Regions from separate parts of the Homo sapiens genome. Here all the other regions are linked to region 1. Evidence: promoter capture Hi-C in 16 types of primary human blood cells and fetal thymus (Javierre and others, 2016). All regions are on one chromosome and are shown on one strand. Each heading gives the region's core, a stretch centred on a gene start or on the middle of the fragment in contact. The rest is flanking DNA. Distances are from core to core; before and after follow the strand shown.

Region 1 (2,700 bases), core at 81-2,580:
TGGTGTGCAGTCTCCCTTATTGATTGCTGGATCTGTCAGACTAAAAATTAGTTTGAGGCTAATTGGACTAGGACACCTCTAACCTTCGAGATTGTTAAACCGAGGGCCAGAGGGGATAAGACTGGATTGAGAGCCCCCAGCAAGTCCACACTTCAGCCTACACCAGGTCCTCTCAAAATATTTTTTTCACCTGAGGATTCAGAAAGGCTTTCAGGAGGGCACACAGGCTTCTAGCTCTGTCAGGATTCTCTGGAGGAGGAGATATTTGAACTTGATTTTGAAGGATGAATAGGCATTCTTAGGTGAAGGACTGCACGACTTCTTCCCCTTCTGCTCCAGTGACATCTCCCAGAGGGCAGGGGCATCTCCAGAATTTACACATTGGAGGTGATATGGAGCAGCAAACTGGTTGAAGGGTAGAAGCAGAGCCTTGTATTAAAGCTACATTTCCAAAGTAAGGGCACCATGACCACATATATTTTACTTCATGAGGAAATAAAAATAATAAAGTTTCCTAAAGATTTTTATTGACATATTGCATTGGACTAAGGACACATTAAAAATTATTAGTATTGGTACTACGTAGTCCCTTTTTAGCTGGGGTAGATGGAGTGGGAGATAAGGTAAATTGCTGCAGCATTCAAACCTCGCATCCAAGCCCCACAGGCACAGCAGGAGGGGAACCCAGCACTCTGAGTTCTCCCTTTTTCCCACCTCATGGCATATCCTAGGAGGGCTTGCATAACCATGATTTCTCCTCCTCCTCCTCCCCTTGTGGTATGTCCTAGGAGAAGCCTGTAACCAGCCTGACATCTCCCCGCTTCTCATCCTGTGGTATCTGCCAGGAGATAGCCGCGGCCGCCCCTGATTCTTTCCAAGAGGCCCTTCAGTTTCTCGGAGCGGTATCACACAGATCCATAGACTACAGGTCCAAAGACCCCCTCCTCCAGTTAGCCCGCCCAGAGAAACGTCCCCACCCGTGCTCCCTGCCACCAGCGGGACAGCTCCACCTGAGTTTAGAGCAGACAGCTCTAAACTCACAGCCTGCTCTGTGAGTTCAGAGGTGTCCTCATCCTCAATACGGATGGACACTCCTCCAACATGGTGTATCCCATGGGGAAGCGCGACGTGGGCGCGGCCATGTTCCCCACCTGACCACGCCGCCGAGGGGTACCGAACGTCCCAAAGCACCCACTTCCGTAACTTCTCCATGTTGACTCCTGGCTAACAGCAGCTTCAAAGGTGGTTTTGCGCACGCGCGGAACCTCCGCTTCCCTCATTCATGTGAAGTCCCAAACCCCGAAAAAGGGCGGTGCTAGGGGTAGTGACCGGAAGCGGCTGCGGTTCTCGCCGGTTCTCAGCCGGGGTTTGATAGTTGTCAGGAGGATTCGACGTTCAGTGCCCAGGGATGTGGAGGTGATGGGGGGCCGGGGAGGGTGAGTGCTGGGCGATTCTGTGTGGCCAGTGATGGAATCGTTTATCTAACTTGAGTTGGATGATTCACTCATCATTTTGCAGGCTTTTCTCTTTTCTAACATCACCGTTAAGGTCTTAAAGTTCATTCTAAGCCCCATTGGGTTTGGAGCATTATGTTTTTTAAGAGTGTTAACTTGTATTCATTTGTCTTTTACCCGGGAGTTATTCAAAAGTGGGGTTTCAGTGTGCAAAAGTTTATCTCTGTAATGGATCTCTAACCTTAGTTTTCTGTGTTAGAAAAATATCTACGTGAAGCTCATTCCTTGAAATATAAGGAGACTTATGGCCTAGTCCGTGGTGAATTTTTAGAAACGTTCTATATATAACTTGAAAATAATATTTAATTATTTAGTCGTCAATTGTGTCATAGAAAATCTATCCTTTTTTGTCTGCTTCTTCTATTACTTCGAGGAGAGAGAAATTCTCCACTGTGATGGTGATTTGTCTGTGTCTCCTTACTGCTGTCTGTGATCCTCTGTGAGTTACTTTTTGTATAAAGTATGAGACTTAGGTCGAGGTGCATTAATTTGCTTATGGATGTCCAGACTGAAGCACCATTTGTTGAAAAGACTATCTTTCCTCCATTGACTTGTCTTTCACCATTGTCAAAAATAAGTTGGCCATACTTGTGTGTGGGCTCTTTCTGGGTTTGCTATTCAGTTCATTGTCTATGTGTCTATCCCTCTGCCAGTACTACCTTGCTGTCTTGAATTGGATAGAGTGATTCCTCTCACTTTATTCTTTTTCAAAATTGTTTTAATGCCTCTGGTTCCCTTGCCTTTCCTATATGCATTTTAGAAAATCTTGTCTCTATCTACAAAGCATCTTGCTTGGATTTTGATAGGAATTGCATTAAACCTGTATACCAACTCGGGAAGAAGTTAAGTCTTAACTGTGCCAAGTCTTCCAATCCATATACATAGTATGTCTCTCTATTTATTTAGATCTTTTAAAATTTCTATAAATGGTGTATTTTAATTTTCATCACCCAAGTTCTGTACATGTCTTATTCAATTTATACCTAAGTATTTAATTGTTTTGGAGTGGTCATAAATGGTGTTATCTTTTAAATTGTTGCTTATATATAGGAATACAATTGAGTTTTGTCTGTTGGTCTTGTATCCTGCAATCTTGCTGAGCTCAATTATTAGGTTTTACACCTTTTTTGGCAGATTCCTTGGATTTTCTGCATGAGCAATCATGTCATATACAAACAGGGATAGT
Region 2 (2,700 bases), core at 12-2,511, 200 kb after region 1:
GAAGGTAAGTTTGAGTATAATTGATAAATATTTTGAAGTAATTTAGATTGTCTGAATTGACCAGGTTAGGATATTTGAAAGCCTAAATAGAATAGGGAATTCTCATGGGGCTTGCCAGTTATTATTGTATATGGGTATAGTTTGTGTGATCTGGCAGGAGAGGATCAGAAGGCAATCAGGGCTAAGGGTAAAATTTTAGGCCATTGCGTATTGAGTTTTTCCATCAGTTTAGCAAGCTTTATTGTTTGTTTGGTTTGGTTTTGTTTTTTTTACAGATAGGATCTCACTATGTTGCTCAGGCTGGTCTCAAATTCCTGGGCTCAAGCAATCCTCCCACCTCAGCCTCCCAAGTAGCTGGGACCATAGGCATGTGCCACCACACCCAGCTAATTTTTAATTGTTTTTTTTGTAGAGATGGGATCTTGCTTTGTTGCCCAAGCTGGTCTTGAACTCCTGGCCTCAAGTGATCCTCCTGCCTTGGCCTCCCAAAGTGCTGGGATTACAGGCGTGAGCCACCATACCCACTTTAGCAAGTTTTAATTTTAATAGTCCATTAGGTCTGTCTATTATTACAGGAAAGATAGGTGATAAGGGATGATCCGGAGAGATAATAAGGACTACATATTTTTGTGATACAGGAAGAACGACTTGGATTTCTTAGATTACTTTACTGGTGAAATGGGTCCCTCAGCCACTTAAAAAGAGCTAATGGAATTGTCCATGTGCAAAACACTTGCCCTGTTAATTTAGGGAAGGCTAAGTATTTTTTTTACAACACTTCCCATACACTTTATATAATATTAACTAAATCTAATTATTTTAGTACCTCCTTTTAAAAAGTGAAAGAACAAATCATTTTGTGATTTCCTTGGGACCCTCTGGAAAATCTCAAAGGCAGGTTTAGGTATAAAACATACCATTTAATATTAGATTTGGAGCTGGTCGCAGTGGCTCATGCCTATAACCCCAGCACTTTGGGAGGCCGAGACCAGCGGATCACTTGAGGTCAGGAGTTTGAGACCAGCCTGGCCAACATGGTGAAACCCCGTCTCTACTTAAAAAATACAAAAATTAGCCAGGCATGGTGGCACACACCTATAATTCCAGCTACTCGGGAGGCTGAGGCACGAAAATCGCTTGAACCCGGGAGGCAGAGGTTGCAGCGACCGGAGATGGAGCCACCGCACTCCAGCCTGGGCGACAGATTGAGACTCTGTCTCAAAAAGAAAAAAGAAAAAAGATTAGATTTGAGGAAGGCAAAATGTCAAAAATTGTTAGGATACTTGAAAATTTGGTTAAATAGGGTCATGGGTCACTGATAAACAATACTTGGCTACCATTTAACTAAAGTGATTTTAAAGTAAATATAGGAGGTAACATGGTTGTAAAAATAGCTCTTTAAAAAGTGAAAAAACTTGATTCTCTTAAATAACTAAGGATATGAAAAAGTCAACATAAAGCACAGGTATAAAGAGCTGGGTGTCCTCTAATTCAATCCACTACTGACTATCTACTTGGAGACAGAGTCAGCTCCCACAAGTTGAGGACTCAGTCTCACAAGACTGTCTCCCATTTGAGATGCCAGTTGCAAGCACATATTGAGACCTGTACTTCTTACCAACTGGCTGTAAGTCAGGATTCCCACGACCCCCCTGAGGTTCAATTCATTTGCTAGAGCAGCTCACAGAACCCAGGCAAACACTTTACTTATGTTTACTGGTTTATTAATAAGGGATATAATGAAGGATGAAGATTAACAGCCAGATAGCGAAGATGCATAGAGCAAGGCATGAGGGAAGGGGTGTGGAGTTCCCATGCCGCCTCCAGAGCACCACCCTCCAAGAACCCACACATTTCCAGCTATCTGGAAGCTCCCCAAGCCCTGTCCTTTTGGGTTTTTATAGAGGCTCCATTACCTAGATGTAATTGATTACATCATTAGCCATTGATGATCAATTCAACCTTCAGCCCCAGAGTTGAGGGATGGGGCTGGAGGTCCCAACCTTCTAATCACATGGTTGATTCCCCTGGCAACCAGCTCCCATCCTGAGGCTATCCAGGAGGACATTAAGAGGTCACCTCATTAGAGCAAAAGATGCTTCTATCACCCAGGAAATTCCAAGGGATTTAGAAGCTCTGTGTCAGACACTCCTATCACACAAGAAATTACAACGGTCTTAAGAGCTTTGTATCAGAAACTGGGGTCAAAGACCAAATATTAAAACAGAATATTTTTATCATCTCTCTCTCCTGTAATGATAGACAGACCTAACGGACTATTAAAATTAAAGCTTGCTAAACTGGACATAGTGGCTTACGCCTGTAATCCCAGCACTTTGGGAGGTCAAGGCACCAGGAGTTCAAGACCAGCTTGAGCAACATAGTGAGACCCCATCTGTAAAAGACAAAACTAAACCAAAAACAAACAAACAATAAAGCTTAGTAAACTGATGGAAAAACTCAATCTCCAATGAACTAAAGTTTTACCCTCTCTGGGACTCTCCTTCACCATCTGTAAAATGAAGCCAGGGCTCATTTACGTGGGATTCCCATGAGGATCAAGTAAAACTGTGCTGGAAGACTTTAGCACAACACATTCCTGTCTGGCAGCAGAAGGGGATCAGCCTTGAGGTATAAAATTCTGGGTTGCAATCAGTGGTGTGCTGATAACAGCTGGCCCCAGCGAAATGGCACAAGCCA
Region 3 (2,700 bases), core at 63-2,562, 240 kb after region 1:
TCAGCCTGGGTGACAGAGCAAGACCCCTAAAAAAAAATTTAACAGCCAGCCAGATTCAATGTCAAAAAATGGGAGCATTAATGCTAAAATCTATAACTGAGCTCTAGGTTTAATATATAAATCAGAGTGGGAAAACTAATGGTGTTAAGAAACCTGGATTTAATTCACAGATCAGAAGAGGCATTGATGGAGGAAAAATAAAAAGAAGTCAGGTTTGGTTTTCATGCTAGAAATGAGTTGATGATGAAATAGTTAACAGAGATGCCCCAACAAGTGGGGCATTAGGGGTGGAAGCATTAACAGAAGTAGGCATAAAGAGAAAACTGAACAGTCCAGGCACAGTGGCTCACGCCTGTAATCCCAACACTTTGGGAGGCTGAGGCAGATCACTTGAGGTCAGGAGTTTGAGACCAGCCTGGCCAACATGGGGAAACCCCATCTCTATTAAAAATACAAAAATTAGCTAGGCGTGGTGGCACATGCCTGTAATCCTAGGTACTCAGGAGGCTGAGGCATAAGAATCACTTGAAACCGGGAGGGGGAGGTTGCAGTGAGCAGAGATCACACCACTGCACTCCAGCCTGGGCAACAGAGTGGAACTCCATCTCAAAAAAAAAAGAAAGAAAGAAAGAGAGAAAACTGAACAGAGAACCAGGTGCAAGGTCAGGCCTGAGTGGCAGTGAAAGTGGAAGAGTTAACACAGGACCAAGATCAAGGCTCAGATCTGAAGGCCATAGATGGCAGAAATGTGACCCAAGGCCTAGATTCAGTGTGGAGAAGAGAGGACACATAATCTGCTGTGTAGCCCTAACTAAAGCCACAATCATGTCTAGACTTCATCAGTGTTATGCAGTAGCTGCTGTGCACTGAATTGTGTTCCCTCAAAATTTGTATGTTGAAGACCTAACACCCTACATGACTGCATGGGAGATACGGCCTATAAGAAGATGATTAAGGTTAATGATGTCAGAAGGTGGAACCCTGATTGGAGACAAGTGTAAGAGACCCAAGAGATTCTCTCTCCGCCATGTGATGACACAGCATGAAGGCAGCCATCGGCAAGCCAGAAAGAGAGGCTTCACCAGAAACCAAACCTTTCTGGAACCTTGATCTTGGACTTTCCAGCCTCCAGAACTGTGAGAAAATAAATTTCTATTGTTTAAGCCATCTAGTCTATGGTATTTTGTTATGGCAACCTAAGCAGACTAATACAGTAGCTATGTACATCTTTAAGATTTCTCTCAAATATGTGGGAAACTATGTATGACAGGACCCCTGGAAGTTAAGAATTTTCATGATGATCAAAGCCCTTCTCAATAATTTTTTGATGCTTCTCTCTAGACATGTCCACAGGAATTTTTAAAAATAAAATGTTTAGGCAGAGCACAGTGGCTCAGGCCTATAATTCCAACTCTTTGGGAGCCCAGGGCAGGAGGATAGCGTGAGCCCAGGAATTGGAGACCAGCCTGGGCAACCTAGTGAGATCCCATCTCTACAAAAAATGTAAAAATAATAATAATAAAAAATAAAATAATCTTTACAAAAATTTCTGATGCAGTAAGTAATGCCTTTCATGCATACTCCTGGACTCTAGACCCAGAGCTTCTGATCCAATAAGTCAAGGATGAGGTCCAATACTCTGCATTTATTTTAATGCTTTATTTGGAAATAATTTCAAACTTACAGAAAAAGTTGCAAAAATAGTACAAAGAACTCTCATATACCCTTCATCCAGATTCTCCAAATGTGATTATTTTATCCTATTTTCTTTACATATATATAACATATATGTACATATATATGGTGCATATTATATATATATATATACACATAATTTTTTCTGAATCATTTAAATATAAATGTCTGTTGCAGGAAGTCAGGGACCCCAAACGGAGGGACTGGCTGAAGCCATGGCAGAAGAACGTGAATTGTGAAGATTTCATGGACATTTATTAGTTCCCCAAATTAATACTTTTATAATTTCTTATGCCTGTCTTTACTGCAATCTCTAAACATAAATTGTAAATATTTCATGGACACTTATCACTTCTTCAATCAATACCCTTGTGATTTCCTATGCCTGTCTTTACTTTAATCTCTTAATCCTGTCAGCTGAGGAGGATGTATGTCGCCTCAGGACAATATGATAATTGCGTTAACTGCACAAATTGTACAGCATGTATGTTTGAGCAATATGAAATGTGGGCACCTTGAAAAAAGAACAGGATAACAGCAATTGTTCGGGGAATAAGAGAGATAGCCTTAAACTCTGAATGCCGGTGAGCCGGATGGAACAGAGCCATATTTCTCTTCTTTCAAAAGCAAATGGGAGAAATATGGCTGAATTCCTTTTCTCAGCAAGGAACATCCCTGAGAAAGAGAATACGCACCTGGAGATATAGGCCTATGAACGGCCCCCCCAGGTGCACCTGTCTTTTATGGTCAAGACTGCAGGGGTGAAATAAACCCCAGTCTCCCATAGCACTCCCAGGCTTATTAGGAAGAGGAAATTCCCACCTAATAATTTTGGTCAGACCGGTTGCTCTCAAAACCCTGTCTCCTGATAAGATGTTATCAATGACTATGGTGCCCGAATCTTCATTAGCAATTTTAATTTCACCTTGGTCCTGTGGTCCTGTGATCTCGCCCTGCCTCCACTTGCCTTGTGATATTCTATTACCTTGTAAAGTACTTGATGTC

Evidence for each region. The method cuts DNA at HindIII sites, captures the fragments that hold promoters and counts their contacts. A CHiCAGO score of 5 or more calls a contact.
Region 2: a contact is called between a fragment that was not itself captured here and the fragment with the promoter of ZNF81 in region 1, in 1 of 17 cell types (naive B cells). The highest score is 5.7, in naive B cells.
Region 3: a contact is called between a fragment that was not itself captured here and the fragment with the promoter of ZNF81 in region 1, in 1 of 17 cell types (neutrophils). The highest score is 6.5, in neutrophils.

Annotation. Positions count from the first base shown.
Region 1 is chrX:47,835,572-47,838,271 of GRCh38, forward strand. ZNF81 (zinc finger protein 81) reads left to right here and starts at 1,331. Exons shown (of 5, transcript NM_007137.5): 1 at 1,331-1,416. RefSeq lists an enhancer at 1,079-1,458. The HindIII fragment of the contact is 3,931 bases long and covers 1-2,700 here.
Region 2 is chrX:48,040,602-48,043,301 of GRCh38, forward strand. No RefSeq gene overlaps it. Among named protein-coding and RNA genes, the nearest start is that of ZNF630-AS1, 14 kb to the right of the region's middle. The HindIII fragment of the contact is 2,055 bases long and covers 235-2,289 here.
Region 3 is chrX:48,075,883-48,078,582 of GRCh38, forward strand. No RefSeq gene overlaps it. Among named protein-coding and RNA genes, the nearest start is that of ZNF630, 5.6 kb to the left of the region's middle. The HindIII fragment of the contact is 7,479 bases long and covers 1-2,700 here.